Linked DNA regions of Homo sapiens: all the other regions are linked to region 1. The links are contacts of gene promoters, found by promoter capture Hi-C in blood cells and fetal thymus (Javierre and others, 2016). All regions are on one chromosome and are shown on one strand. Each heading gives the region's core, a stretch centred on a gene start or on the middle of the fragment in contact. The rest is flanking DNA. Distances are from core to core; before and after follow the strand shown. Region 1 holds the start of GABARAPL1 (GABA type A receptor associated protein like 1). Region 2 overlaps STYK1 (serine/threonine/tyrosine kinase 1). Region 3 has its middle 32 kb from the start of CD69. Region 4 has its middle 17 kb from the start of KLRF1. Region 5 overlaps MAGOHB (mago homolog B, exon junction complex subunit). Region 6 has its middle 29 kb from the start of MAGOHB. Region 7 overlaps CLEC2B (C-type lectin domain family 2 member B).

Region 1 (4,169 bases), core at 894-3,393:
CTAGCTCTGTCGCCCAGGCTGGAATGCAGTGACACGATCTTGGCTCACTGCAAGCTCCCGCTACCACGCCCGGCTAATTTTTTTGTATTTTTAGTAGAGGCGGGGTTTCACGTGCTAGCCAGGATGGTCTCGATCTCCTGACCTCGTGATCCACCCACCTCCGCCTCCCAAAGTGCTGGGATTACAGTCGTGAGCCACTGCGCCCGGCCTCATTTTAGTTTTGATGCAAATATAGTTAAACCCTCCCGGGTTCTCCCTTCCGGGTTCAAGTGATTCTCCTGCCTCAGGCTCTCGAGTAGCTGGGGACTACAGGCGAGCGCCACCAGGCTCAGCTAATTTTTTCTGTATTATTAGTAGAGACGGGGTTTCACTCGTCTCATGTTGGCCAGGATGGTCTCTATCTCTTGACCTCGTGATCCACCCACCTTGGCCTCCCAAAGTGCTGGGATTACAAGCATGAGCCAACGCGCCCGGCCTATTTTTATTTATTTATTCTTTTTGAGACAGAGTCTTGCTCTCTCTCCCAGGCTGGAGTACAGTGGGCGATCTCAGCTCACTGCAGCCACTGCCTCCCGGATTCAAGCGATTCTCCTGCCTTAGCCTCCACAGTAGCTGAGACTGTAGGAGCGCGCCACCATGCCTTGTTAATTTTTGTTTTTTCTGTAGAGACAGGGTTTTGCCATGTTACCCAGGCTGGTCTTGAACTCCTGAGCTCAAGCGATCCTCGGCCTGGGCCTCCCAAAGTGCTGGGAGAACAGACGTGAGCCACCGCGCCTGGCCCCCTGTGGGTGTTTTTAAAATTAGAGACACTGAGACCCCGACTGAAGAAGATAGGCCACGGGGCTGCTGTTATCTAATATTTATCAGAACTCACCCGACTTGTATGGGCAACGCAGCCCCTTTTCACTGTTCTTTTTCTTTGCAAACTCCACAGTCCTCCCTGTCGCTGCCCTACAGTACTGGTTGGAAGGTCTTTCTTCTTTGACTCTAGGTGGGGAAATCCAGAACGAGGCTTCGCCTCACCTGCCCTAATGCCCAATCTTCTACTAGCATTCCAGGCAGCGCTTTCTAGTCACGTGAGGGATACCTAACCACTGGAACTAAATAAGATGTGGGGGAACAACTGAGGTCATCACCTAAATTGCTTGATACTCTCTTTTCCAGAAGACGAGCCCCCTTTCTGAGTTTATGGCAGAAAGTGAATCCCTCCCTCCCTCCCTTCCTTTCTTTTTCTGTAAGACGGTGTTTCGCTCTTGTTGCCCAGGCTGGAGTGCGACGCCGTGATCTCCGCTCGCCGCAACCTCCGCCTCCCGGGTTAGAGCGGTTCTCCTGCCTCAGCCTCCAGAGTAGCTGGGATTACAGCCATGCGCCACCACGCCCAGCTAATTTTGTATTTTTAGTAGAGACAGGGTTTCTCCATGTTGGTCAGGCTGGTCTCGAACTCCTGACCTCAGGTGATCCGCCCGCCTCGGCCTCCTGGGATTACAGGCGTGAGCCACCGCGCCCGGCTAGAAAGTGAATCATTTCTATATTTGATTGTACGTGAAGCCCTCGGTAGTCCTTACTGACATCATGTCTCCTTTAGACTTTGATTACACTCCGTGTCCTTCATCTGACTCCTCTCTTCAGATTCCTGAGTCACGCTCTGTTTATGTTGCTGTTCAGGAGCGAACTGCGGCACCGCCCAAACACTGTGACGCCAGCGCGGGAGGAGGGCCGCGGGAGGGGCAGCGGAACGCGCAGAGGGCACGGTGCAAGCACGGGACAGCTCTGCATTGGCCAAAGGGATCCCAGGAGGCCTGGCCCTCTTTTCTCCTGAGGCTGGATCCCAACCAGCAGGAAAAGGCTGGATTTTCGCCTTTTGTATTTGTTTTGGGGCCCAACCAAGAAAAACAGTGGAGGGGGAATAAAACATGTTTAAATCTTTTTTTTGTCTTAAAACCATCTTTAATTTCACAGTCACAAAATAAAACATAACTCGAATGTTTTGATGTTTGCAGTGACATCGATTGTGAAAAAGGTTAGCCAGAAAGGAAACGCAGTGAGACAGAGCGCTCGGCCACCCCCTGCCCTGGGCGCCTGGCGCATGGGGGGCGGGGCGGGGCTCGCGGGGTGACGTCACAGCCCGACGCGCCACCCAGCTGTTTTTGTGCTCCCAGCTCTAGCGAAAAGCCGCCGGTATTTCTCCATCTGGCTCTCCTCTACCTCCAGGCAGGCTCACCCGAGATCCCCGCCCCGAACCCCCCCTGCACACTCGGCCCAGCGCTGTTGCCCCCGGAGCGGACGTTTCTGCAGCTATTCTGAGCACACCTTGACGTCGGCTGAGGGAGCGGGACAGGGTCAGCGGCGAAGGAGGCAGGCCCCGCGCGGGGATCTCGGAAGCCCTGCGGTGCATCATGAAGTTCCAGTACAAGGAGGACCATCCCTTTGAGTATCGGAAAAAGGAAGGAGAAAAGATCCGGAAGAAATATCCGGACAGGGTCCCCGTGAGTGTAGAGGAGCGGAGGGGATGGGAGGGGAAGGGCCCGCGGGGGCGGGGGCGGGTAGTCGAGATGGCTTCCCTGGGGCGCCCAGGCGGCTCTGGAGAAGGGAGGTTCCGAGAATTACTTAATCCTGAACGCCCTTCAGTGCCAGAGCCAATGGACGTCCAGACTGTAGAGCTTTTAAAACCCCGTATGCCTGGGCCCCGAACCCCACTTCAGGGCTGACGGCGTTTTGGGGGCCGAGCCGCCGTCTTCAGTGACTCAGCAACCCACACACGGTCTCAGCAGCTGAGACCGTGTGTGGGTTGCGGTGCACAAAATAGGGCCCCTGTGGGCGAGACTGGTTAGATCGGGGCCATGGATTGGCTGCCTTTAAGAACGCAGGGACATTGTGCTGTGCGGTGAGGTTTGCGCAAACCCAGTCGATTTCTGCCTTGGCTGGTTCTCCTTTAATGAAGTTGACTTTGGCTCTCATATCATTGGTCTTGGGACGAAAAGGTTCAGAAGCTATTCAGTAATTTTCTTGCATTACAGGGGGTTAGGGGAGCACAAGACAGTCCTGGCCTGGAAAACAAGGTCACGTTCTCTGCCCAACAGCCCTCTTGCCTCATCGTTCTAGGCTCCGGGGCTTGTGTGGGGACAGCCAGCCTCCTCGTGTTGATTTCTGATCACCTGGTACCTGGTCGCGATAAGGCAGGACTGAGACGTTTTTTCTCCGTTTTGGACACCGGCTTAAGTAGTTAAAACTACCGCAGGCAGTGAGTAGGAACAGAAAAGTATTAGGTATCTTTCAGCATCCGGGCGTTTTCCCCATTACCCCCTCCCCCGCCCACTTGCCTGGTGTTTCTCTAATGCAGGCTGCGCAGCCGAATTGGAGGGCAGAATATGGCTTAAGTGGTAGGGGGACCAGCAGCTGTTGGATTTTGGAAATGGAGGAGCGGAGATTTTAAAATTGTGCTCTTTATCTTCAGGTAGGAACATTAGTATTACGTGTCACATAATGGTAAAATAATTGCTGTTATCTGATGTCTTTTCTTGACTCACAGCCACTCTGGGTTTCTTCTCTAATCCTTACCTAACGTTCGTGGTTTTATAGCTACCAGAAGCCACCAGGGCCTTAGCCCAGCAGTAGAAACCTCTTGTAACCCTTTTCCTTTAAAAAGAAAAAAAAGTCATTAGGGCTCTTCATTCCCCAGGAATTACAAAAAGGTTTTCAGCTTATAGAGGGGTGAGCTAATCCCTTACTCGGGAAAGGATCCTTTACAAATTACTTTCCTGGTTTCTGGACCTTGGATACCTGAAAATTTTGCCCAGTTCTGGTGATACCAATCTTTTGAGCAATGATATTTAAAAAATACAATCAAGTTTTATTGATAGTTTACCCTAGCGGTATTATAAGTACTCAGTCTGTAATCATTGACTTACTTCCTTACACGATTACCCGTTCTACAGATGGAGTATTCAAAGCACAAAGAAATGCAGTAACTTCCTAAAGGTTTCACATTGCTGATCTGTGGTTGAGCTGGAATTCCAACCCTGTCTGAAGGACTGTGGAGCTCTCGGGTATCTTAACCTCCATGCCATATTGTTTCTCAGTTTCTAATATAGTTGTATTAACCAGAATTAATGACGTGCTGTGGACTTTACACTGTTAAGTATTGGAAATAGATAAATATTTATGTGCAT
Region 2 (4,169 bases), core at 1,236-3,735, 410 kb after region 1:
TTGGAGAAAAAAACCTGATAAGTTAGGAGAATCTTGAATCTCTAAGAAAGTGATCAAATAAGACAAAGTAAGACATAAGACCTGTCCTCCACTCTCCATACATGGGAAAGTGTGCAGTTTCTCAGTCAAATGAATTAATAAGTCTGGAGTAAACATTTTTATGTTTATGCAAGACCACTCTGGGAATTATCCTTGGGATTTGAAAACATCCCTTGGATTTGGTAATATTTTGGGGAAAATAAAGAGGAAGAGAGCAAAAGAAAGGTAAAAAAGGACAGGGAAGAAGGGACTGGGGCAAGGAGAAAATAATCACTTTATATGACTATCACGGGAATCAGGCTTAGATAACATGTCAGTCCATTTCAAGCTTCAGCACTGTACTGAAACCCTTTCAGAAAGCATACATCATCCACCCCTTAAATAAACACGCTTGCATATTTGCATACAGGTACACACTATTTTGGGGCTCATCCTTACCTAGAGTCACCATCTCATAGAGCAGGATCCCAAAAGACCAGCTGTAAAAGAAACAAAGCCATCTATTTAATTTCTATTTCTGTTTTTCTAAAGAGAGCTCATTTAAGTGTCAGAAGCCTTTAATAAGAGCCCCATGAAAAAGGCAATGAAGGAGAATCAAGGATGAGTGTCTGAAAAACAAAATAACAGCCATTAGAAAGCATTTCTGCTCAATTTCCATAGGTTCGAATCTCTTTTAAGATTGAAATTATATCTCTATTTACTCTCCTGTGTTTTAAATTAATAGATGTTTGTTATTATTTGCAAATGTGTGTGCATGTAACCACACAAACACATTTACCTCAATCACAAAAGCACATTTACCTAAAAATATTCCCTCTGTGTCTCTTTCTTCCTTTCCATCCCTCTCTGCTGAAATTCTTGCCTTTATTCTTAGCACAAATTCAACCAAGTTTTATCATTTAGTCACTATTTTCTCAGTAGATTTAATTGCCCAAACCTAGGAAAAATATTAACAGGGCAAGCTTTATATATAGTTGAAATAGGTATTTGCCTAAGCAATATGACTTGAGAGGTGTATAGTTCACTATTCTGTAATATCATTATTGAATGATTAATATTTTACAGTTAAGTTTATTACCCCCAGATGTCTATTGAAAAGCAGATGTCAGTGAAGCAACAATGGAAATCTCATAACTGACTCATCATATTAACTGATATTCTAAATTTCCTCTGCTGCTCATGGCATTCATGGCTAGCAGGATATTCTACATTACATCAATGCACTTCTCCAAGCAATTGAGTTATATGGCTACCAAAAGTCAATTGTGATTCTTTATGATCCTGTTAATGCCAATTTTACATGTAATTGCAATTATATGTAGTTATATAATCAATTAGGTATTTTATATATGGATTAAATGCAAAAAAGTGTTATCTTCCTTCAAACAAAGTTTGAAGGAAGTTGAATGTTTTGAAAACTAAGTTGAATGTTTTGAAAATGATTTATAAAAATAAACTGCTGAAAAAGAAAGTCTTGTCAAATTGTGTGAGGGAGACAACTTAGAAAATTGGGAAAAGTAACATCAAAAGTCTGCAGTCAAACAATTTCACAATTATTTTCAGGTTTCTCATGCTACCTAAAATCATTCTGAACTGGAACTCAAAAATAAATCATTTTTATTTACACTAAAAGATACTATTTACACTAAAAGAACAACGTGTAACTTCATTTGGGAAACTCATCCTTATAAAAAGAAGCCTTGCCCCTCCTTGAAAAAAACAGATAATGTACATTTATAAGTTTTATGTTAAAATAAGTTATTGAAGGTATGTATATTTCTTTTTATTTTAACAATGTATGGGTTAACTGGCCTTTTGGTTATTCCTTCAGATAAAACAGACTTTACTAGATTAAGTCCTCAGATATTGATGTGAATAATCTTTTCACTTTTTTTTTTTCTAATTAAGGCTGCTAATCTAATACAGAAGAAATACTTGAGGCTGGGCATGGTTGCTCATGCCTGTAATCCCAGCACTTTGGGAGGCGAAGGTGAGAGGATCACTTGAGCCCAGAACTTCTAGACCAGCCTAGGCAACATGGTGAACCTTGTCTCTAAAAAAAAAAGAAAAAAAAAATAGCCAAGCAGGGTGGTGCATGCCTGTAGTCCTAGCTTCTAGGGAGGCTGAGGTGGGAGGATCGCTTGAGCCTGGGTGGTGGAGGCTGCAGTGAGCTGTGATCATGCCACTTCACTTCAGCCTGGGCAACACAGTGAGATCCTGTCTTAGAAAAGAAAAGAAGAAAAGAAAAGAAAAAGTTGAAAAAGTACCAAAAAGGATTGCAGACAGATGACAAACATGAACTCTGTCACATAACATTTCTGCTTGAGAGTATGTCTGATTTCTAAGTAGAGATTATATTCGTATACAGAATTGGCAACAGATCAAATCATATTCAGGGACAACACCCAAGTCATGAAGAAAGTAAACTCAGAGTCCAGGAATAAACCGTACACATCTGCTCTGATGCTAGCAGGTCTCAGGAGAAGCCGTTCTGGGGCAAGCCACTTGAGAGGTATGGTTTGAGTAGAGGAGATGGCCCCTCGGGTGTAAACTTCATAAGCCAGGCCTAATCCACAGAGCTTAGCAGTGAGATCACTTTGCATCAGAATATTCCTGGCTGCCACATCCCCATGGAACAAATGCTTCTCCTGCAGGAATTCCTGTCAAGATAAAATCAAATATGATCAGCTGTCTGAGATCACAGCTTGGGTCACAGACAAGGAGAGGCAGTCCTAGGAATCTTCAAAAACACAAGGACATTTTCTACTCTGAACAAGTCTCACTAATAATGATATGTCACTTCCAAAGCATGCTAATGAACTGCACATTTCTGCATTGTGTTTAGGATTACCAAATTGAGCAAATAATTCAAATGACATTAATACTGGATTTTGAAAATATAATCACCTCTGTTTCAAACACTGACCCCTGCCTGATTTTCGTTTCCCGTGAGAAAGGACCCAGCTAGACACTGGAAAAGGGAGTAGATTCCAAGTTTCTTTCTTTTTTTGTTTGTTTGTTTGTTTGTTTGTTTGTTTGAGACAGTCTCGCTCTGTCACCCAGGCTGGAGTGCAGTGGCGGGATCTCAGCTCACTGCAAGCTCCGCCTCCTGGGTTCATGCCATTCTTCTGCCTCAGCCTCCCAAGTAGCTGGGACTACAGGCACCCGCCACCACGCCTGGCTAATTTTTTGTATTTTTAGTAGAGACGGGGTTTCACCATGTTAGCCAGGATGGTCTCGATTTCCTGACCTTGTGATCTGCCCTCCTCGGCCTCCCAAAGTGCTGGGATTACAGGCATGAGCCACTGCACCCGGCCTGATTCCAAGTTTCTAGCAGTAGTCCTCAAAACAATGTAATACGTACCAAAATTGAGTATCATAATGAAAAATGTATATACATATCTCACTTTTTCCCCTAAAATAACTGCATGGGTTGAATTCAGAAATTTTCTTTTAGATAAATCTAAATGATTACAAAAGGCCACAGAGTTATTAAGCAGTAGTGACCAGAACCAGGTATTATAATTCATAGGATGTACTATATAAACTCTACTAAAAATTTTCAAGTCAGTCTGCATATTGGAATTGCCTGAGAGCTTTTTAAACATAAGATTTTCACCCCAGATTTAATAAACCAAAATGTAGGAAGAAAGACCTGGTAACCGACATTTTTAAGATGTATCAAATTCTAGTACAGCCAACAGAGCATCGGAGAGCCATGGCACCCTATGATAATTGATTTTTGGAGTAATTTCCAATGGCATCAACCTATTCAAGGCATAAGAAGAAAGTTGCAAAACTATACATGACTGAAGATCTAGATATTGAGGGCTGTGATTACTAAAAAAGGATGGTATAGAAAATTAGAAGGTAAAGGTGATAATTTCCAATCACTGATGACAAAGAAAACTAGCAGTTTTCTGTGCCTGGTGAAGCTTTAAAATAAGAAATTATAGTGCCATGATAAGAATTAAAGAATGTAACTGACTTTGAGCTTGTTAAAAGTAAGAAAAAAATAGCATGATATTGCCTTGTAACAGGTAGCATAGGGTCCTGATGAATGCACCAATTTGACCAATTCATCCCTGGACGGCGCCTCTGCAATTGCGGTTCTGAATACAGGGTAGGCT
Region 3 (4,169 bases), core at 642-3,141, 420 kb before region 1:
TACCCCTAGGGAAAAAGTCATTTGCACTGAGCGAGCTCTGTTTGAGATCAACTAAAGTCGTAGGTGGGAATTTCCAAGATCATGTTTGATAGTTTGAATAATGACAGTACTCTAAGAATAATTTTTGGGACTTCTAAACCCTTTATGGCCCCTCTGAGACCTGTTGGGCTACAGTTCACTACTGCTACTATAGTTGTAAGACCTACTATAGTTTTTCAAGGCTACTGTGAAGCTGAGGAATACGGAATAGGAATAGAGCAAGTTAAATCTCCACAAAGGTCACTGTTTTCAATTAAATTCACCTATTTTCTTGAGTAAATGCTTGCCAGATTTTTGCAAGTCTTTGGTTAATTCACAGTATTCTGAGGAAGTTTGTTTTGACAGTTTTTGTCAATGTTCTTGTTGATTTTATGAAGGAATAGCTTTTTGTAGGTCTTTATTCCACTGTTTCTGCTCATGTCTGGCAAGACAATTAAGCAGGTAATTATGAGGGCATGTAGAACACATCTTGGAGAATTTATTCTCAAGGTGGCATTCTATAAAATTATGTAAATATTTAATCTGAGAAGTGAAAGATGAGACAGTTTTCCAGGTGAATAAGGCAGAGGAAAAACAACAACAACAACAACTTTGTAGACAAGGGTAAAATGTACAAGTCTTAGAGATGGGAGAAAGAATGGTCCACTACAGTGAGACTGAAGAATGGAACAAGAGACAAAGCCAGATTACAGGGTGAAATCAATGCTGTTAAATAGTCTGGAATTATTCTAAGTGCAGAAAGAAAGTAATAAATTCTTATAAATTTGGGACAAATTGCAATTAGATATTAATTTTTGGAAGTTAACAGGTGCAATTTTTGGAAGTTACTCAGTCTAACAGGTGCAAGATGAACTGGAATAAAGGGATACCATAGAGAGATGACTGCCTTTAAGACCAATGCAGTGGAAGTAGAGATGATGGAAAGTTGTTGAATTAAAGACATTACTAGTCATTACAGTCTATGATTTATTAGGTAGGGTCATTTAATCAGAAAAAAATGCAGACAGAGAGTCAAGGATGGCCTTCATGCTTTGATTCCTAAAACTGTGGGCAGTATTCTTTCAAATGAGTCAGAAATTAGGGGGTAAAATTAGATTTAGAAAAGAATCAAAATGATCACTTTTGTTTCTGGAATATGTGGGAGATTGAGTTGGATATTTTAATGGACTTTTGGATATATGCTGCTAGCCCTAAGCAAAGGAGTCTGATCAGGAAAATTTATCTATCTATCTATCTATCTATCTATCTATCTATCTATCTATCCATCTATCTATCTATCTATCTGCATATATGTGTGTATATATGTATATATATGTGTGTGTGTGTGTGTATATATATATATATGTCTTCCTTATCTTTTGATTTAAAAACTGGTTTTCCATTTACAATGGGTGCAATGGTGTGTCTCCACTTTGGACTGAAGCCTCATTGTCTCAGCACCTGGGAGTCAGAAGCTTTCAACTGAATCTTCCTTGTATGGCTCTCAGCTAAACAGAAGTGCCTTCTCAAAGTCACACTTTCTCCCAGTGCCAGATGTATCAAACGGCTGGTTCGTGTGGGAGTATAAAAGCTTGGACTTGTTGCCTTATATCAAGATAAACTTGAAAGGGCACTCACCTCCAGAGCTCCCTATACTGTTAGCTGAAGCCTTTGTGTTACTGCATCACAATTCAATATCTGCCTTTGCCCAATCCTTTCTTTCTCATCCACAGGTACTTAACATCCTTTATGTAATCCTTCATCTGAGAGTCTGTTTTTGAGGAACCTGACCTGTAACACAGCCTGAAGAAATTTGGGGACAAATCCTAGCAAAAAATTGGGATATCATTCTTGATGTATTTATTTTTTGGATGATACATATCATTTTACTCCCTAAGAGCCATACCAATCAATACTACAAAAGAATGAGCAAACGGAATTTCTCTGCAGCCTGTATCTCAACAAGATCTGCTCCTCCAACTCCTTGCATCTGGCATTTTTTGGGGGATAATCATAAGGAATGTTTTGACTCTCTGATAAACACACAGAAATGAACATTTTGTAGGAAACCATAAACATGAGTCATACAGATAAAAAGCAAACATAGTTCTATTTACTGTCATCAGAGTATGTAGATCAATATTTTATTGCATTGGAAGCTTCATCTGCCATTTTTAAAGTAATCATTTCAACCAGGAGGATGGTATATTCTGACTGAAAACCTCCCAGGACCATATTATGTAGGCAAATGATTTTTTCCAAAGAAATAGACAGGAAAGTGGCTGTAAAGACAAAATGTATACCTTTGACTATAGTGGCTAAGGCCGTATCTCTGTGTTTTTTCCATTGACCACATGGTTGGTTTGAGTCATAGGTGTACTGAGTCAAATGGAATTGAATGATAAAATCAAGGAGCACTTTGTATCCAGAAGTACAGCAGAACATATCAAATATTAAATTGATGCATAAAATAGGAAATATCTTTGTTTACCTACATGTTAATACTAAAAAGTACTATTGCCCCATGCTTCACGATGAATATCAGGAAAGTAAGAACCATGGGAGATAAAAAATGAATTAACATAGTCTCCGACCTGTGTGTCTACAGTTGAATTTTATACATATAAGCCTTATAAATAAAGCATTTTACCTGCAAAAAAAGTGATCATAAAATAATATGATTACACAATTACACAAGGTGATAAAAGGAAAAGTTCTAATAAAGGGGCTAAGGAGCCGTGTGATAAACCAGTTGTAGGAAATATACTTCTCAGTCTTGCTTTGGATGTTGGAACGGTTTTTGAATGTCCTGGTTTTAGGAAAACTCACCTTCTACCTTTCTTCGAAACTTCAGAATTCATTTGCAACCAAATAAGGAAGTAACTCCTACGCATCTGTTTCCTATACACGTTTCTCTTCATTTCACCACAAAACTATGTAATTTATAGGAAGTCAATTTAACTTCTTTTCTTAGAAACAAGAAGTTACAAATTTCAAGGGTATTTTTGGAGGTATTGGCGGTTTACAATTTCATTCAAGGTTATTGTCATAGTTTGTTACACTTTTTAGTATAAGAAAAGCCTAATACAAAATATGTCAAACTAGCAAATAATTGAATTAATTTAAAAGAAGATAAAATGAGAACATTAATAAGAAGAATAAATATAGAACCCAACGTACCTTGAATTTCAGTGAAGCAACAAATTGTTTTTCTTAAAATATCTGTGTTTATATGAGCACTAAGTGGGCTGGGATTGTAAAATCCTGTTAGTAACAGCGGAATCACCTTTGTATCATGACAATGATGAAATTACTGTCTCTTGTCACAGCTGTGTGATTTGACTAATATAATTTGGCTTATATAATTCCCCAGCAATTAAATCTACTTTTCTGATTACACTACACCTGCACCTTAATAGGTGTATTTAGCTGGGGAAATAAAAAATCATGCTGAAATGTCTCATTTAAAAAACATAACCCACTTGAAACAGGCTTTTGTAGTTAGTACTGCACCCTAAACTATTCCTGTCAAGACCACCAATGACCTTCATTTTACAAAACTAATGACTGGTTCTCTGTTTTCATCTTGATTTCCATTTCTTTCTCTTTCTGTTTCTCTCTCTCAGTTTGGCTTGCATGAAACTTTTCTTCTATGTCACTAGTCATTTCTCTGAAGAAGCCCTTTTCACCCCTTTGTTTTCTTCTACTTTATCTGCACAAGCTTCCTAGATTATCTCATCCAGCCCATAGCATTAATGCCTTCCATATTCTTACGACCTGTTTTTCAGCTTTGACCTCCTTTTTGCATTCCATATTTGTCTGGCAACCGCTTAGTCACACTCTCTACTTCAGTGTCAAATTGACATTTTGAATTTAAAATGTTAAAAGCTCATCTTCTCATTTTGCCTTTCATACCAGCTTATTCTCCAGCTTTTCATATCTCAATGGTAGTTTTATCACATTCACACATATCAAAAACTCCTGAGACAACTTTGTCCTCTCTCTCCTAAACACAACATCTAACCCTCAGTGAGCAATGCACACAGAATCATACGTCCACTGCGACCACTGTATTTCACATTTCACGCTAACACCAACAATTGCCTGCTATCGTTAACAGTGTTTTAATTGTGATCTTTCTGCTTCTGTCT
Region 4 (4,169 bases), core at 918-3,417, 400 kb before region 1:
TTGTGGGATAGTTCCAGTACCATAGAAAATTCCTTTGTGCTCCTTCCTGATTAATGCTTTTCCCCCAATGTGTTTGTAAAAGTAAGAAGAAATAATTGGTCTAAAATAAATCTCACTCCACTTGCTTCTTTGAGTCAAATTTACTTGCTTTTTGATTTTTTTTTCAGAATAACAGTGATTTCAAATAATTAGAACTTATGCCCTAGTTGTAATAACAGGTAACTAGGTTCATGGTAATCATCTATATATCCTAATATGTTAGAAAATATATTCACTTAAAGTTAACTAGCTTAAAGATCAATGACAGGATGGTAAGAAAACAGTAGGCTCAAAAAAGACCCGCATCCTCCCCAAAAGCAGGAGTGAATGCTAACAGTAGTTTCTCCATGTACCACAGAATGCTGCAATCATGCAGCCTTGGTTTGGTAGACGTTTGAATCAAAGAGCTTTAGGCAAGAGTTGGCAGAGTGCAATATTAAAAATATAGTTAGCTAAGTCTTAGTAAATATCCATATGTGTAATATGAGTAAGCAGGCAAGTCATGCTAGAATGACCTCGTATTCTTGGTGTTAAAAGACTTATCACATTAATGGTTTTGGAAAACAATGAATGTATCATGTATATGATTTTCACTGAGATGTATGCCACAGAATGCTATAATATCTACATGAAAGCAGTGCTACCTCAGGTTAGGTGCCATTAGTTAGGAGAGAGATCATTTTCTATATGCCAGAATGTTTTGCATTTCATTCTCTCTTACTCCACATTTTATAAATGCTTAGGTTAATATATTCAATGTATAGATGACATACAACTTGGATATCTAATACACTGAGTAATAGAATCATAAACTCCAAACATTCTGCATTTCGGAGAAAATTGAGAGTTTAGCGAGATGAATTTTTTAAGTGTATTAAAATCTAAACTGAAGAAGTTAACAAGATGGGAAGAATTGCCTTTATTTGTAGATGTATGCAAGAGCACTAGGGGAAATTCAATGACCAACAAGCTCAAAATAAGATTGTGTGAAGTAATGAATTTTAGGTAAAATCAATACAAATATATCTAAAAAGAAAGGGTGGGACTTTTTTCCTCCATTCCTGGCCCAATTCTTTGAAATAATTTTTATGTGATTGTTTCAAACCATCTTAACTTTCTCTTAGTTTTCCTCTGCATACATGCACATATGTAAATGCCTACTTTTAAGAGTACAGATGAGAAAAAACAGGGATTTGAATTAGTTGAAACCGTAACTTAAGTATTATTTCCAGGAACTAAAGCTACTTAGCCAGAATCAGGAAAAGGGCTGCTGGGAATAAGTTTGTTAACGTAAATTGTTCCAACAGCTGTCATATTGATGTTACGCTTAGTTTACTGGCTCCAGAAGGCAGAATTGATACCAATTCTTGAAAGAAGCATCCATATACCCCAGTTAATTTTGATTATGTCATGAGATTTTGTGTAGTATTCAAAGATAAATTGTTATTATTGTTGGAAAAAGCGGGTTACTTAGATTTAAACTTAGGTTAAGAAAATTGATTTAAAAAAATAAGTTCCACTTTCAAAAGTTGTTATTCTATTGATAAATCTGTTTTTTTTAATGCTGCTTTATTTGATGTAAAACTACTGTTTTGAAAATATTGACTGTGCCTATGGATTAATGTATCAAACAAAATCACCCCATGAATAAATCAAATATTTATTTATTTACCTGAAGTATACAAAAGGAGAATGACATAAAGATCAATTAGCAAGGTTGATAAATCTGCAAGAAACAAGCTTCTCAGTCCTAAATTTCATCATTAAATCACTGAAACTCAGAGTTGTGAATGACAACATCTGAATAGTGAGTGTCAACATAGATTTTCTACAAGCTTGAGGGTTTTTATCTAGGAACAATTCTGTTTGTAGGTCATCCTGGATATATTCAAGGGACCATTATTTTTGGTATTATACAATATAACTTGATGTTCTCATAGTCAAATGTGAATGCATTTCTCATACTTTATCTGAATCCTCCCAAATTAACAATGTGGTCCAAGTATATTCCCAAAATTAGAGTTTCTGAGCCTGAACGGAAGTTAAGCTCCCAGAAATCGCAGGTAGCTGTGTTAATAAGTGGTTAGAATAACTAGGGCTTATCTTTTGTGTGTCCTTTGATAAATTTAAACAAATTAAATTCCTCTCCAAGATAGGTCTGATTCACAAACTTAATGACTATATGCTTAAATTTTCACCTATAGTTTAATGAAATGTTTGTTTTTAAAAGATGTTTGAAGTCTAAAATAGACTCCCCAAACAGTGTCTGACATGTAATAAGTCCTCAGAAAATAATTCATAAATATTGAATGACTAGTAGGATATTAAAATGTGGTCATTCCTGCTGTTTACTTTTATCTGAGGGCACAAATGTCAAGAACAATTCTATAGGTGCTAGACCTCCTATATAGGACATGCTAACAAGCTTGCAAAAGTGTTTATTTCAAATTTCGATCTATCATCTACTTTCAGAGCACATTAAGAGTTTATGAGTGTTCAGAGATTAGGAAGTGAGAATTTTTTTTATGAAGTGACTTGCCAGTGTACTTCCCATTTCCCAATATCTTTCTGTGTCAATAAGCAAAAGAACTTCTCTTTTACCTTAAGCCAAGTTTGGATTCTGTCATATATTGGCAAGTGTCCTCTGGGAGTTGGAGGTTGCAGAGGTGAACACTTTCAGTATGTGAGTTTGTTAGAACTACACATAACCACAGAGTAAAAGCAGATGTGTAGATTAAGCCACACTTCCAGCAATGGTGAGGCTGAAGGGAGTGTTTCCTGTGGGCCGGATGAAGATCTCATACAAAGCAGCCATTTGGGAACCATCCTAAAATAAAATTCACCTAAGACTGCTTCTTACCACAGGCAAGTCAGCCTCAATGAAAAGAAGCTGGAAGTATAGAGTAGAAAGCAAAAAAAAAAAAGGTACCTGGGGAGTTGTGAGGGGTGAGGTACAGTGATTTGCAAGCAGGATTGCCAAAGGAGACATCACACATCAGACAACTGCAGAGTACCCCAGGAGCAGAATTTCTGAAAAACCCATAGAAGTAGTCCAAAAAAAAAAAAAAAAAGAGAGAAAACATTTGGAGTGTCAGCATACAGATTAAAACTGTCCAGGCTGGTAACATCTTTATTCCGTGTTTATTTCTATTCCCTTTGTTTCACCTTCACTCATTCTGGGGATCAGGGTTGGGGAATGGAAAGAGATACTAGAGAGGGAAGAAGCTCATGCAGAGCCCGTTATACTCACTTGCCCCCTTAATGGTCCCAAACTAAGCAGATCCAATCCAAGCTGAGAGAGAGGAAAAGTGTTAAATTAGATAAAAGTTGGACTTAAGATATTAGGCGGAATTGGATCTTTTATTATCTTCATTATCAAAAGACCATGAGATCCACAAAGGAAGGAAAGGAGAAGACTTTATTTTCAGAGGGAAAAATAACCCTAGAATTAGGGAAATGCAGCTTTCGGGAAAATCCGAAAGTTCACTCTCTGAAGAAGTGAGAGGGGGCTGGTATACATGTCTTATACAGTCAGTTTTACATACATACTGAGCAGGGTTGGGAAAATTCTGTGAATACTTATGAATATTCATGAAGGAAGTCAAGCACTAGTGCATTGGGTAAGCAGATGTAACATGCACCCCACGGTCACTTTGGGATGGTGTTTTAACATTAAATCGGGTGGAATTTGGCTCTTTACCTCAAAAGGTGAACTATAGCGTACAAAAATAGTTTGTACATAATCTCCACAAGCTGTCTGTAACTGGTTTAAGGTCTGTGGCCATTCATCAATAAAGAATGTTTATAAGATTGGGTCTGGCCGGGCGCGGTGGCTCACGCCTGTAATCCCAGCACGTTGGGAGGCCGAGGCGGGCGGATCATGAGGTCAGGAGATCACGACAATCCTGGCTAACATGGTGAAACCCCGTCTCTACTAAAAATACATAAAATTAGCCAGACGTGGTGGCGGGCGCCTGTAGTCCCAGCTACTCGGGAGGCTGAGGCAGGAGAATGGTGTGAATCCGGGAGTCAGAGCTTGCAGTGAGCCCAGATTGCACCACTGCACTCCAGCCTGGGCGACAGAGCGAGACGCCGTCTCAGGAAAAAAAAAAAAAAAAAAAAAAAGATTG
Region 5 (4,169 bases), core at 437-2,936, 390 kb after region 1:
ATACCGTTAGCTAGAAGCTTAGAACAGCTTCTAGTCACACCTTCAAACCTTCGGGTCACACTGTCAAACCTCAGTGGTTTATCATTTCACAGCAGCACACTGCTCTTCCTGCCCCAGACTAAAATGAAGGATGTCTGGAAAAACCCCTAGCATGCAGGGAAGATGGTCTGAATCACTTCACTGGGAGGACTAACCTCACCCAGACAAGTTGCCATCTCCTTTTTTATTTGTTCTAATGCCTAACTTTTATCCCACTGCATGACACTGAACTTCCTGGCTCTTATAGTAAAGAAAAAGATAAAACGAGGCCGAAGCAGGCACAAGGTCAGGAGATAGAGACCATTCTGGCTAACACGGTGAAACTCCATCTCTACTAAAAAAAATACAAAAAATTAGCCAGGCGTGGTGGCGGGCGCCTGTAGTCCCAGCTACTCCGGAGGCTGAGGCAGGGAAATGGCATGAACCCCGGAGGCGGAGCTTGCAGTGAGCCGAGATCGCGCCGCTGCACTCCAGCCTGGGTGACAGAGGGAGACTCCGTCTCAAAAAAAAAAAAAAAAAAAAAAATCTCTAGCTTGAGATTTTCTGTTTCCCTAATCACCCTGTTTGTCTTTCTTGTCTTTACAGTAAAATACATTCAAATGCTCTAAGTTTAACATACATTGTCCCAACTGAACCTCTAGTAATTGATCAAACAGCAACCATCCTTCCTCTTATTTCTGAGAAACCAAACAAGAGGGCCACCTCAGGAACTAAGTTAACTATGATGACATAATGGCAAAAAAAAAAAAGGATTCCCGATGGCAATTTAAGAGAAAATAGTTAAGCTGATCTGTAATTAAGACTTCTGATTCTTAAATTAGTATTCTCTCCACCACATCACACAGTTCAAATTAGGACAAGGTAGATGCCAGAGATTTTGAGTGGTAGTTATCCAACTTTACTGATCATCATACGGAAGTCAGCCAAGGCAGATTCTGAACTCACCCTCAAATCCTTCATTTACCTTTGTTGTTTATTAAATTTTTAAAATTTTCTATTCGACTTCATTATCCATTCATGCTAGGAATCCAGTTATTAATTAAAGGGGTCAGTGGTTAAACTTACAGCACAGTCCATGCTCATAGGTTCACACATTTCAAATCAAAACGAAGTAGTCTAACAATAGAATATATAAATCATCTCAGTTACATTAATATTTACATTAAAAATATCCATACAAATAGACTCAGCCTGATACCAATGAAATACCAAAGATAAATAATCTAAAGGCAAATAATCTAAGGACAGAGCAAGACAGCAACCAATTCAACAAACTTAAAAAACACCTACTATATGGAAAAGACTGTGCTAGGGTTCTGCACTATCTCATGAATGGGGAAGAGGTGGGATGAGGTGCAGACAGTACTTGGAAAAAGTCTGATTATTTCAAGTGGTCTCTTTATTAAGGAAGGAGGTAAAAGGAACATAACCTGAGCGCAATAAAAATCTAGTTTCATATAAAACTAGTATTATACAAAATTCAGTTTCTAATGATCACTGTCCATCAGCAACTTACAATCAAATAAAAGACAGATCAAAGTATAAGAAAATTGTAGACGGTAATATTTTCCTAATGACCTAGTCTCCCATCTTGGTTTAAATATGAGAAATTCTAGTAGATAGTGGGGATAGAGCTAAATAAACGAAAACGTAAGGAAGTTAGAGAACGGGGACAAAGACTTAAAGATTTTTCAACGTAAGCACTATTTCTCCTCAACCTTGTTCAGTTTTTAATGGATCATCTTATTCAACAGGAGCCACAACCTGTTTTGAGGAACAACCAACAACTGTGGGCCTACTGGAAGTTCAAAAGACGATTGTTCCTGTTTCTGAGGTTGACATCTAAATGCAAGAAAATTACAATACGATTTCATACTGCACAATCATCAAGGTCTACAACTGGAACAGAAACATTTTACATACAAAAGACCTGAAGATGATAGCGTACTTGCATAATGAAGTGGAAATCATTTGACTTTCCATGGCAAACCTGAAGACAATGGGCATGCATTTTGAGGAGTGAAAAGGACCATCTAGTGCTCCATGGCAAACAGGTTACCAAGCCATGCTCTAGAGCTATACTGTCCAAACGGTAGCCGCTAGACACGTGGCTACCTAAATTTAATCAAAATTAAATAGCACTACAAAAAAAGTAGTTTATTGGCACCAATTACACCAGTTAAGTGAAAAACCAAGATTTATTATAATAGAGATATTACAGTAAAAAAGATGTTAAGTATAGAATCTAGGTAGGGGTAGGCATATAGGTGTTCACTTTATAGTTCTCAAGAGTTTTTAATGTTTTATCCTTTTCACGTTAGAAAAAAATTGTTTAAATAGCACCATAAATTCAGTTATACAAGGCACACCTCAAGTAATCAGTAGGCCTCATTTGGCCAGTTGCTACCCTATTGGACTGCACATAGAACGTTTCCATTATTGCAAAAAAGTTATTGGACTGCCCGACTCTAGAGCCTACCTGCTCAGGAGTCCTGGCAAGCCTTCAGAAACTAATTATTCCACCCAAAATTCAGTGCTAACTTGTTCCTAGGGCAAGTGGATTATAACTACTGGAACAGTGCAACTTTTTAAGAGTGGGGCTTCAGATGGAAGAATAAAAGGAAACAAGGAACATGGTTACTAAAAGTAATGAAAGAGGAAATCTATCAGAAAGAGGTTGAAAGGAACTGGGAAACTGAAGTGAGACTCGTGGTCAATAGGAGTTAAAAATATTTATGTACATTCATACATACATATATGTTTGTCTAAATGTTTAACAATTTATAAAGCTGAAAACTCATTTAGTTCTCCCCCCTCCCCTACACACCAAATACATTGTGAAATAAGGAATAAAGACATAATCAAAGATATGCCTAACATGGGGTAGACTGTACTCTTGTAACACTTTAGGACCTCACTGCTTATAACTGAAAATATTTAAATGTGAATAATCCCTGAGGGGTTTGTCATAACTGTAAAAAAAAACTAGACCTTGTATAAGCCCCCCAAAATTAAATCCAATCATGTATGAAGGAAATAAGGGACAATCTACACTTGCCTTTCATGGATGGGAATCTGGCTACATAGTTCCACCTAAAGTATCTTCTGTCACAGGATATATCTACCAGAACAATTTCTTATTATCTCTAAAGTGAATTAGAGACATAGCCTCCTGGAAAAAACAAAAAACTACTCTGCAACCAGGATTTGGTATGTTTTATTAGAGCAAATTTTTAACAAAAGGTGGCTTTCATTTACAGAATTTAATGTGTGTGGGGACTGTCCAACCCATATGGACTCAAGTAAGGATAACCATTAAGCTTGCTAATGTATTTTCTTATTTTCAGTTTACATACAAATTTTTTTTGTTTGCTTCACATTCATAAAAACCCCAATACTGTAAATGACAAATAACCCCTCCCATCCCTTAATTAAATATACAAACAGCCTGAAAACATACAATTTAAATTGGTTTAATCTTGAAGTGTAATCCAATAAGACTGAAAACTAAACATTTCAAGTCTTGTACCAAATAGTAAAATACTCGAAGGCCTTCAGGATCCCTAAAATTTAAAAAGGTAAAAGTTACTTTTTCTTCCTAGGATAAAACAATTCTTTAAATGCCTAAAACAAAACAAATCAAAATCTCATAACAATTAAGTTAACAAAATTTAGGAGAAAGGAAGGATTTTGCTGACAACTAAAATGAACATACAATTAATATCTTTTCTATACGAAAAAATAGTTTCTTCATCAGTATTCATTTTAGTATTTAAAGAGTTCATATCCTTATGATTGTAATAACCACATCATAAAAATGTCTAATAAAGCAGAAAAAAATAATACTGTAATGCTACCATTTCATAGAATAACTATAAACATTTTGATGTTTCTCTATTTTTTAATAACTAAAATTATTCCTTGTGCCCTTTTTTACATTACTTTCCCCACAGCATTAAAAAAAAAAAATTCCCTAGTAATTTTTAATTAATTTAATAATTCTCTCCTTGTTAGACACTGGGGTTAATTTCCTATTATAAATAATACTTCAATGAGCATCTTCATGCATAATAAAGCTTTTCCAATATTTAGGAATAGTTCCATAGAAGAGATGCTCAGAAATGAAATTA
Region 6 (4,169 bases), core at 624-3,123, 370 kb after region 1:
AAAAATGTGGCACATACACACCATGGAATACTATGCAGCCATAAAAAAGAATAGTTCGTGTCCTTTGCAGGGGCATGGATGAAGCTGGAAACCATCATTCTCAGCAAACTAACACAGGAACAGAAAACCAAATATTCCATGTTCTCACTCATAAGTGGGAGCTGAACAATGAGAATACATGGACCTAGGGAGGGGAACATCACACACTGGGGCCTGTTGCGGGGTAGAGGGCAAGGGGAGGGAGAGCTTTAGGACAAATACCTAATGCACACAGGGCTTAAAACCTAGATGATGGGCTGATGGGTGCAGGAAAGCACCATGGCACATGTATACCTATGTAACAAACCTGCATGTTCTGCACATGTATCCCAGAACTTAATACTTTTTTTAAAAAAAGAAACATAAACATTAAAGCAGAAATGAAAAAATAGAGACTAAAAAATACAGAAGATCAACAAAACAAAGTGTTAGTTTTCTGAAAAGATAAAATGAACAAACCTTTTGCTAGACTAAGAAAACAGAGAAGATCGAAATGAATAAAATCAAAGATGAAAATGAAACATTACCACTGCGTATTTTTTAATCCATTTTTGACGCTTCAACCTTTCCTGTTTCATGCTGAGATGAGATCATCACCACATCCTACTCTAGTCAAATAAGAAAATCTAATCTTGAGTTACAAATTTATTAAAATTCTTTAATGATAGAATTTCTTTTCTATGGACACTGAAAAACTCTTCTCTACTGCTATATACCAAATATTTATGTCCCCCAAAAATTCATTTGTTGAAACCTTATCCCCAGTGTGATGCTATTTGGAGATAGAGACTTTGGGAGGTGATTAGGTCATGGGGCTCGTGCCCTCATGAATGGGATTAGTGTCCTTATAAAAGAGATTCTAGAGAGCTCCCTTGCCTCTTCCTCCACTAGAGAACACAGCAAAGATGGGCATATGTGAAGCACAAAGCAGGCCCTCACCAGGTACTGAATTTGTTAGCACTTTGATCTTGGACTTCCCAGCCTCCAGAATTGTAAGAAATAAATTTCTGTTGTTCATAAGCTACCCAGTTTATGGTATTTTGTTATAGCATCCCAAACAGACTAAAACAACTATGTACCAAGAAACTGATATTTTAGTTCCCAGGACTATGCCATGGGTATAATTCATTCATTCATCAAATATTTATTTAGTGACTACTGAGGAAAAGACCCTTTAATGCACTGTGGATACAACATATAAAAAACAAAGATCAATTTTAAGGTCTAGTAGAACACATAGATTAGTGGATGAGACAGAACAAAACTTTAAAATACGTGAAGCAAAAAAAAAAAAAAAATAACAGATAAGTAGACAAGTAAAAATAATATTTAAACATTTAAAAACCATTCTTTCAATAATTGATAATTAGACCAAAAAATCATTAGGACAATAGAAGATCTGAACAAAGCTACAATCACCTTCACCCAATTGACATTTATAGAACACTCCATTCCAATAGAGCAAAACGCACATTGTTTTCAAGTATATATGGAACATTTATCATGATGGGACCATATACTAGGACATATAACAAGTATTACATATTTTAAAGTACTAAAATAATATAGTATATTTTCTGGACACACAGAAATTAAATTAGAAATCAGTAACAAAATTGTATCTGGAAAATCCTGAAATATTTGGAAATTAAGCAACTTTTTTTTTTTTTTTTTTTTGAGACAGAGTCTTGCTCTGTTGTCCAGCTATTTTTTTGTATTTTAGTAGAGACGGGGTTTCACCATGTTGGCCAGGCTGGTCTCCAACTCCTGGCCTCAAGTGTTCCACCAACCCTGGCCTCCCAAAGTGCTGGGATTACAGGTGTGAGCCACTGCACCCCGCCTAAACAACATACTTTTAAGACATGAGCCAAAAACAATTACCTAACAAAATTTGTGGTATGCAGGAAAATAGCACTTGAAGGGAAATTTATAGCTTCAAATAGTTATATGTGAAAAGAGGCTTTCACTTATGAAGTCAAGATAATAAAAGCAGTTAAACTCAAAATAAGTAGAAAAGGTTAATAAAATGGATATAAATCTCTAGCTAGACTGATCAAGGAAGACAAATAAATACAACAATATCAGAAAAGAAAGAATATAACTACAGGTCTTGCAGACAGTAAATACATAGATAATAAAGGAGTATTATTGTTATGGGTTGAACTATGTCCTCCAAAAATGTATGTTTAAATCATAACCCCCATACTTGTGAACGTGACCTTATTTGGTAACAGGGTTGTTTTGCAGATGTAATCATGTTAACATGAGATCATTAGGGTGGGCCCTAATCCAATATGACTAGTGTCCTTATTAAAAGAGAAAACCACATGTGAAGGCAGAGATATGCAGGGAGAAATTCATGTGATGACAGAGTCAGAAATTGAGGAAGAAGCTGAAAGTGCAGTAACACCAGGTACTGACAGCCACCACTGGATGCTAGGAAGAGGCAAGGAAAACTCCATCCAGAGCCTCAGAAAGAGAGTGGTCCTGTTAACACCTTAATTTTGGACTCCTGGCCTCCAGAACAGTGAGAGAATAAATCTCTGTTGTTTTAAGCCACCAAATTTCTGGTACCTTGTTACAGTAGCCCTAGGAAACTAATATGACTATGAAGAACAATATGCCAATAAATTTGACAATGTAGACAAATGAAACAAGTTTCTTAAAAGACAAAGATTAACAAAATTGACAGAAGAGACAGAACGTCTAAATGGCCCTGTCTGTTAAAGAAATAGTATTCCTAATTAAATACATTCTCCCAGAGAAAAGCTCAGGCCTAGATTATTTCACTGGTAAATTAGATCAAACATATAAGGAAAGAAAAATACAAATTCTGAAAAAAAAAACTTTCAAAAATAGAAGCATATTAAAAAATATCCCAAATGAATATATAAGACCAGTGTCTTCCCTATACTGTAAACATTAAAAATTTTTAAAAAATAGACCAATATCTGGGGCCGGGCGCAGTGGCTCACGCCTGTAATCCCAGCATTTTGGGAGGCCGAGGCGGGCAGATCACCTGAGGTCGGGAGTTCGAGACCAGCCTGACCAACATGGAGAAACCTTGTCTCTACGAAAAATACAAAAAACTTAGCTGGGCATGGTGGCACATGCCTGTAATCCCAGCTACTCGGGAGGCTGGGCAGGAGAATTGCTTGAACCCAGGAGGTGGAGGTTGTGGTGAGCCAAGATTGCGCCATTGCACTCCAGCCTGGGCAACAAGAGTGAAACTAGGTCTCAAAAAAAAAAAAAAAATTGACCAATATCTTTTATGAATATAAACACAAAAGTCCTTTAAAAATTACCCAATTAAGTTCAGCAACATATAAGGAATATAATATACTGCAACCACATGAGATTTATCTAAGAAGTGCAAGTTTTGTTTAACATGCAGAAATCAATCAATGCAATTCACCATATTAAGTGACAAAATGAGAAAGGCTATGTAATTATCTCGATATAGAAAAAATGTATAAAAAATCAACTCCCATTCATGATAAAACTGTTAATATATTAAGAATAGAAGAAAACTGCCTCAAAATGATCTAGAGAATCTGTGAAAAACCAACAGCTGACCTCACACATCACAGTGAAAAACTAAATGCTTTTCTCTGTAAGACTGGGAACAAGGAACGAATGCCTACTAGAATCAGTTCTCTTTAACATGGTCCTGGAGGTCCTAGCCAGTACAATGAAACAAGAGAAAGAAAAGAACGAAAGGAAAAGTAAAACTTTCCATATTCTTATAGGACATGATTGTGAACATAGAAAGAAAACTCTTAAGGAATCTACAAAAAAAAATTGCTAGAAATAAGAAGTACACTTAGCAAAGTGATAAGATATGAGGTTAATTTACAAACTCAATTTTATTTCTATAAACTAACAACAAATACTTTGAAAAATATTTTAAATTCCATTTAAAATATGATCAAAAAATAAATTTTACAAAATATGTGTAATATATTCTAGCCAGGTGCGGTGGCTAACACCTGTAATCCCAGCACTTTGGGAGGCCAAGGCAAGTGGATCACAGGAGGTCAGGAGTTCGAGACCACCCTGGCCAACATGGTGAAACTCCATCTCTACTAAAAATACAAAAAAAAATTTAGCTGGGCATGGTGGTGTGTGCC
Region 7 (4,169 bases), core at 1,670-4,169, 350 kb before region 1:
GTGGAGCATAGTAGCAAAATAATCAGTTAAATTATCACCTATAGTCATCTGCTGCCAAGAGTCTATAGAAGATAAAATTTTATATACATACACAGTGTGTATATATATATGTATATAGGTATGTGTACATATAAGGGTGTATATATACATATACACACATATGTGTATATATCTCTCTCATGTACTGTCTAATATAAATTAGTGTTTGTGTTACTCTTAGATAATGCTAGGATTTCATTATAGTTCATTTACCCAGAAATGGTAAGGATGACCTTTACAAATAGAATAATTCTGGTGCCTTCAGGAAGATATATCACTGAAGTTGAAGTTGAAAGGAATATAAATGCCCTAATAAATCCTAAACTACTGTCATCTGACCTAACATGACAAGACATAAATTTTTTTCAACCTGTTATATGATATACAAATTTTGCTGTGACCATAATCTTTTACATCAAAATCCTGTGTGTCTTCAATGTTCTTTCTCAAAACACAGTAGCATCCAAACTTATGGGATTCAACTAAACTTGTGGGACACAGCAACTCCCTTAAAGCTTACAGGAAAATTTATTGGCTTAAGATTATGTTTTAGAAATGATGAAAGACTTTTTGAAAAGATAATTATCCTACCTTACAAAGTTAATAATAGTGATAAATTAAAACCAAAGTAGAAAGACACAATTTAGAAAACAAAAAGAACAGAAATCAATTGAATAAAAAATTAATGCCAAATAGAAGAAAAGTTTAAAGTCATAAGATGACTTTTGTTGAATACTCTAAAACAGGATTGACCACTAGGAAAACTGATTTTAAAAAATGTAACTGTGAGAGATAAAAACACAAATTAGCAACACAAAGAATGAAAAAGTAGAGAAATTTCTAGAAGAACACAATTTAACACAACTGACAAGATAAAAGCAGCATATCTAAATAACACTATATCTAGTTAAAAAATTAAATCTTTAACTTAAAAAATTGCACAAAAAGAAATCTCCCTGTCCAGATGGCTTCAATTAGAAATACTTCTAATCGTTTAGGAAAGGCATAACACCAACGTTATACACACTCTTTCAGAAAATAGGATAGGAGGGAATACTTTCCAACCAAATTTTAGAAGCCATCATAATCACATCAATACCTGATAATAGTATTGAAAGAAAGAGAAACTATAGGTAGATCTTTTATGAAGACGTAGGATATATGTGCATATATCTTAAAATACTATTCAGCTTAATTGAAGAATGTTAAAAGGTTAATAGGTTATGATCAAGTTGAATCTATCACAGAAATTGAAGATTATCTTATCTCAATATTACAAAATCTGTGTAGTTCTACATATTAGCAGAGAAAAGAAAGTATCTCAATAGATCAAGATAAAGCATTTGATATTTTAAATTAAATTAAAGGGAAGTAAATAAAACACCTTTAATCTGATTAAGAATATCTGCAAATACTACTACTAAATTGGGAAATATTAAAAAAATTTTACTGATTTAAGAATGAGACAAACATGTAAGCTGTTACTACTTATACTCAACCTTATACTGGAAGTTATAGCCAGTAAAATAAGAGAATACAATGAATAAAAAAGGCATAAGGTTTCCAACAGAATAGGTAAAACAATTATTATTTTCAGATAATGTAAATTTTTACATAGAACTTGCAAAAGAAACTGAAGAAAATTTATGAAAATGAATAGTTAACTATAGCAAATTTGTTATATGAGGCTTATATAGGTATATATTAAATTTATATAGATAATTTTTATAGGCCAGCAAGAGACTAAATAGGACAATAGTGTTAATGAAAATACTTCTATGCTAGTTACAATTGCATTATAGCGCATTGAGTCTTTAAAAAATTCTTAAAAGGATGTGTGTGAAATCTATTCTGAAAACTAAAAAATTGCTGGCAGAAATTACGGAACACCGAATCAATATTTTAAATGTATGATTCAATATTAAGATAATGATTCCATGAAAATTGACTATGGTTTAATGCAATCTCAATCAAAATTACAGATAATTTATATGGCAGCTTAAAGGATCTAAAATGCTCCAGGTAAACTTGAAGAATAAAAATAAAACTTTTAAAACATTTAAACAACCAGACATCAAGACTTAATTATAAACCAACAGTATTGAGACAGAATGATATAGATACAAAGATAGATAAAATAGAGTAAATTAATGTAATAAAATTTTAGCAAAAATGACCTTCACCTACACAGTTGATTGATGACAAAGACCAACTGCAGTTGAGTAGGGAAAGTATAGTCTTTTTAATAAGTTATTTCAGGTTGAAAGATTAACTAAATGGGAAATAATGCATCCTAATATCTATCTCCTAAAATTTATAAAAATCAACTTCAAGAGGACTATATTTTGGAAAGTGAAAGGAAAATAGAAACCCTACAAAAATATTTTTATGTCTTTGAAGTAAAGTGAATTTCTTAGAATGAAAAATATAGTGACAATAGAGAAAGACACAATTACACTACTTTAAAATTCAGAAGCTCTGTCGATTGAAAGACATGACACAGAGGGTAAACTTCAGCTTCATAGTTAAAGAAGATATTTGCAATACCTATAAACTACAAAGAGTCTCATCTAGAATATTAAACAACTCTTATGAACCAAGCAGAAAAAGAGAGCTAACTTACTAAAATATGGGGAAAGTATTGAAACATTCCCATCACAAAATATTACACCTAAATAAACAACAATTATGAAGGTACTGAACAGTATTGATCATCAGAAAAACGTCAATTAAAGCCCAAATCGGGTAACAACATGCACTCACTGGAATGGCAAAAATTGATAAAACCAACAATAAAGTATTGACATGGCATGGAGCAATTGGAATTCTCATATACTTCTGCTGAGATTATCTACATTTTTGGTAAAATACACTTAAGCTAATCTATGCGTATTCTGTGCTTAATAATTCTTCTTATATCTCAAGTTATTTCCAGTATTCATTAAAAGACAAAAATATAAAATTATACAGTTGTTCACAACCACCCAATTTGCAATAGTCAAAATGTAACACGATCCAAATGTTCATCAAAAGTGATACATAGCAGTGAATGCACTATACTAAACATCCGCTAATACAGCCTGAGGCCAACTCAGCTCACCTTCTGTTTTTGTACAACCACCAGGTAAAAATAATTTTTACATTTTAAAAAGAAATAAAGTAATCAAAATAATTAAAAATGAACAATATTTTGTGACATATAAAATTTTATAATATTTACATTTCCATGTTCAATTTTATTGACACACAGCCATGGTCAATGTCTATGCATTTTCTATGACTGTGTTTCTATGAAAAATTAAGTAGTTGCAGCAGAGACTGTATGGCTAACAAAGCATAAAATATTTACTATCTGGGTCTTTTTATAAAAAAAATTTCAACCTTTTTCCATAATAGTGAGTTAATGAACTTCTGCTACCTATGATGACATTGAAAAATCACACAAGCATAATGTTGAATAAAAGGGAAAAGATACAAAGATACATGCAAATTGCATGACTGTATTTATGATACATGCAAATTGTATATTGTATTTTATATGTATTTAAATTTGATTATATTTATATAAAATTTTTTAGTAGGCAAAACTAAGCTATAGCAATAGAAGTCAAGATAGTGATTAACATAGGCAAGAAAGTGTTGAATAGAAGTGAGATTATCAGGGTGAATAATTTTACCACAATAATTTTGGTATCTCTGATGCCTTACATAGGTCATGTAATTAATAAAATTTATTCATTTGTACCAATTAAATGTTATCATGTATAATGGGAAGATAATGAGATACTGAGAAAAGATCATGACTGAGACAGAAAGGAATAGGATCACACATAGAAAGCCATGAAAAATAAAATGAAGGATGTAACTTACCTATCAGAGTAATAATATTAGTTGTTATTAAAACACCAACAATTATAAAACACTTTTTATGTTTGGTCATCATACCTGAAAAATAAAAATAAAGACATTTAGGAGACTTCTGGCTCCAAAATGATGGCATAAAAGTAAGTTGGCTTTAATGTCCCCCACAGAAAACAACAACAAAATATTAGTGCTGTGATTATCCCCAGCAATATCCTAGAATTCAAATATGAGAAGAAGACAATTCCTGGAGCCACAGGAAAGTGAAA

Evidence for each region. The method cuts DNA at HindIII sites, captures the fragments that hold promoters and counts their contacts. A CHiCAGO score of 5 or more calls a contact.
Region 2: a fragment that was not itself captured here is called in contact with the fragment with the promoter of GABARAPL1 in region 1 in 5 of 17 cell types (naive CD8 T cells, total CD8 T cells, naive CD4 T cells and 2 more); the score reaches 7.0 in naive CD8 T cells.
Region 3: a contact is called between a fragment that was not itself captured here and the fragment with the promoter of GABARAPL1 in region 1, in 1 of 17 cell types (neutrophils). The highest score is 5.4, in neutrophils.
Region 4: a contact is called between a fragment that was not itself captured here and the fragment with the promoter of GABARAPL1 in region 1, in 1 of 17 cell types (total CD8 T cells). The highest score is 5.1, in total CD8 T cells.
Region 5: a fragment that was not itself captured here is called in contact with the fragment with the promoter of GABARAPL1 in region 1 in 7 of 17 cell types (naive CD8 T cells, total CD8 T cells, neutrophils and 4 more); the score reaches 7.8 in naive CD8 T cells.
Region 6: a contact is called between a fragment that was not itself captured here and the fragment with the promoter of GABARAPL1 in region 1, in 2 of 17 cell types (total CD8 T cells and naive CD8 T cells). The highest score is 5.3, in total CD8 T cells.
Region 7: a contact is called between a fragment that was not itself captured here and the fragment with the promoter of GABARAPL1 in region 1, in 1 of 17 cell types (neutrophils). The highest score is 6.3, in neutrophils.

The regions. Positions count from the first base shown.
Region 1 is chr12:10,210,734-10,214,902 of GRCh38, forward strand. It overlaps GABARAPL1 (GABA type A receptor associated protein like 1), which reads left to right and starts at 2,144. Exons shown (of 4, transcript NM_031412.4): 1 at 2,144-2,486. The coding sequence starts at 2,397. GABARAPL1-AS1 (GABARAPL1 antisense RNA 1) reads right to left here. Exons shown (of 3, transcript NR_170310.1): 1 at 3,909-4,169; 2 at 3,321-3,636; 3 at 2,916-3,229. RefSeq lists an enhancer at 1,381-1,923 and a silencer at 2,017-2,276. The HindIII fragment of the contact is 15,130 bases long and covers 1-4,169 here.
Region 2 is chr12:10,622,161-10,626,329 of GRCh38, forward strand. It overlaps STYK1 (serine/threonine/tyrosine kinase 1), which reads right to left. Exons shown (of 11, transcript NM_018423.3): 8 at 2,491-2,699; 9 at 478-518. Among named protein-coding and RNA genes, the nearest start is that of MAGOHB, 11 kb to the left of the region's middle. The HindIII fragment of the contact is 2,973 bases long and covers 1,000-3,972 here.
Region 3 is chr12:9,791,072-9,795,240 of GRCh38, forward strand. No RefSeq gene overlaps it. Among named protein-coding and RNA genes, the nearest start is that of CD69, 32 kb to the left of the region's middle. The HindIII fragment of the contact is 568 bases long and covers 1,608-2,175 here.
Region 4 is chr12:9,808,227-9,812,395 of GRCh38, forward strand. It overlaps a transcript of KLRF1 not described here. Among named protein-coding and RNA genes, the nearest start is that of KLRF1, 17 kb to the right of the region's middle. The HindIII fragment of the contact is 590 bases long and covers 1,873-2,462 here.
Region 5 is chr12:10,602,773-10,606,941 of GRCh38, forward strand. MAGOHB (mago homolog B, exon junction complex subunit) reads right to left here. Exons shown (of 5, transcript NM_018048.5): 5 at 1,421-3,602. The coding sequence ends at 3,503. Among named protein-coding and RNA genes, the nearest start is that of MAGOHB, 8.8 kb to the right of the region's middle. The HindIII fragment of the contact is 3,342 bases long and covers 16-3,357 here.
Region 6 is chr12:10,582,295-10,586,463 of GRCh38, forward strand. No RefSeq gene overlaps it. Among named protein-coding and RNA genes, the nearest start is that of MAGOHB, 29 kb to the right of the region's middle. The HindIII fragment of the contact is 5,981 bases long and covers 1-4,169 here.
Region 7 is chr12:9,858,590-9,862,758 of GRCh38, forward strand. CLEC2B (C-type lectin domain family 2 member B) reads right to left here. Exons shown (of 5, transcript NM_005127.3): 2 at 3,910-3,984. The coding sequence starts at 3,982. Among named protein-coding and RNA genes, the nearest start is that of CLEC2B, 8.7 kb to the right of the region's middle. The HindIII fragment of the contact is 4,734 bases long and covers 553-4,169 here.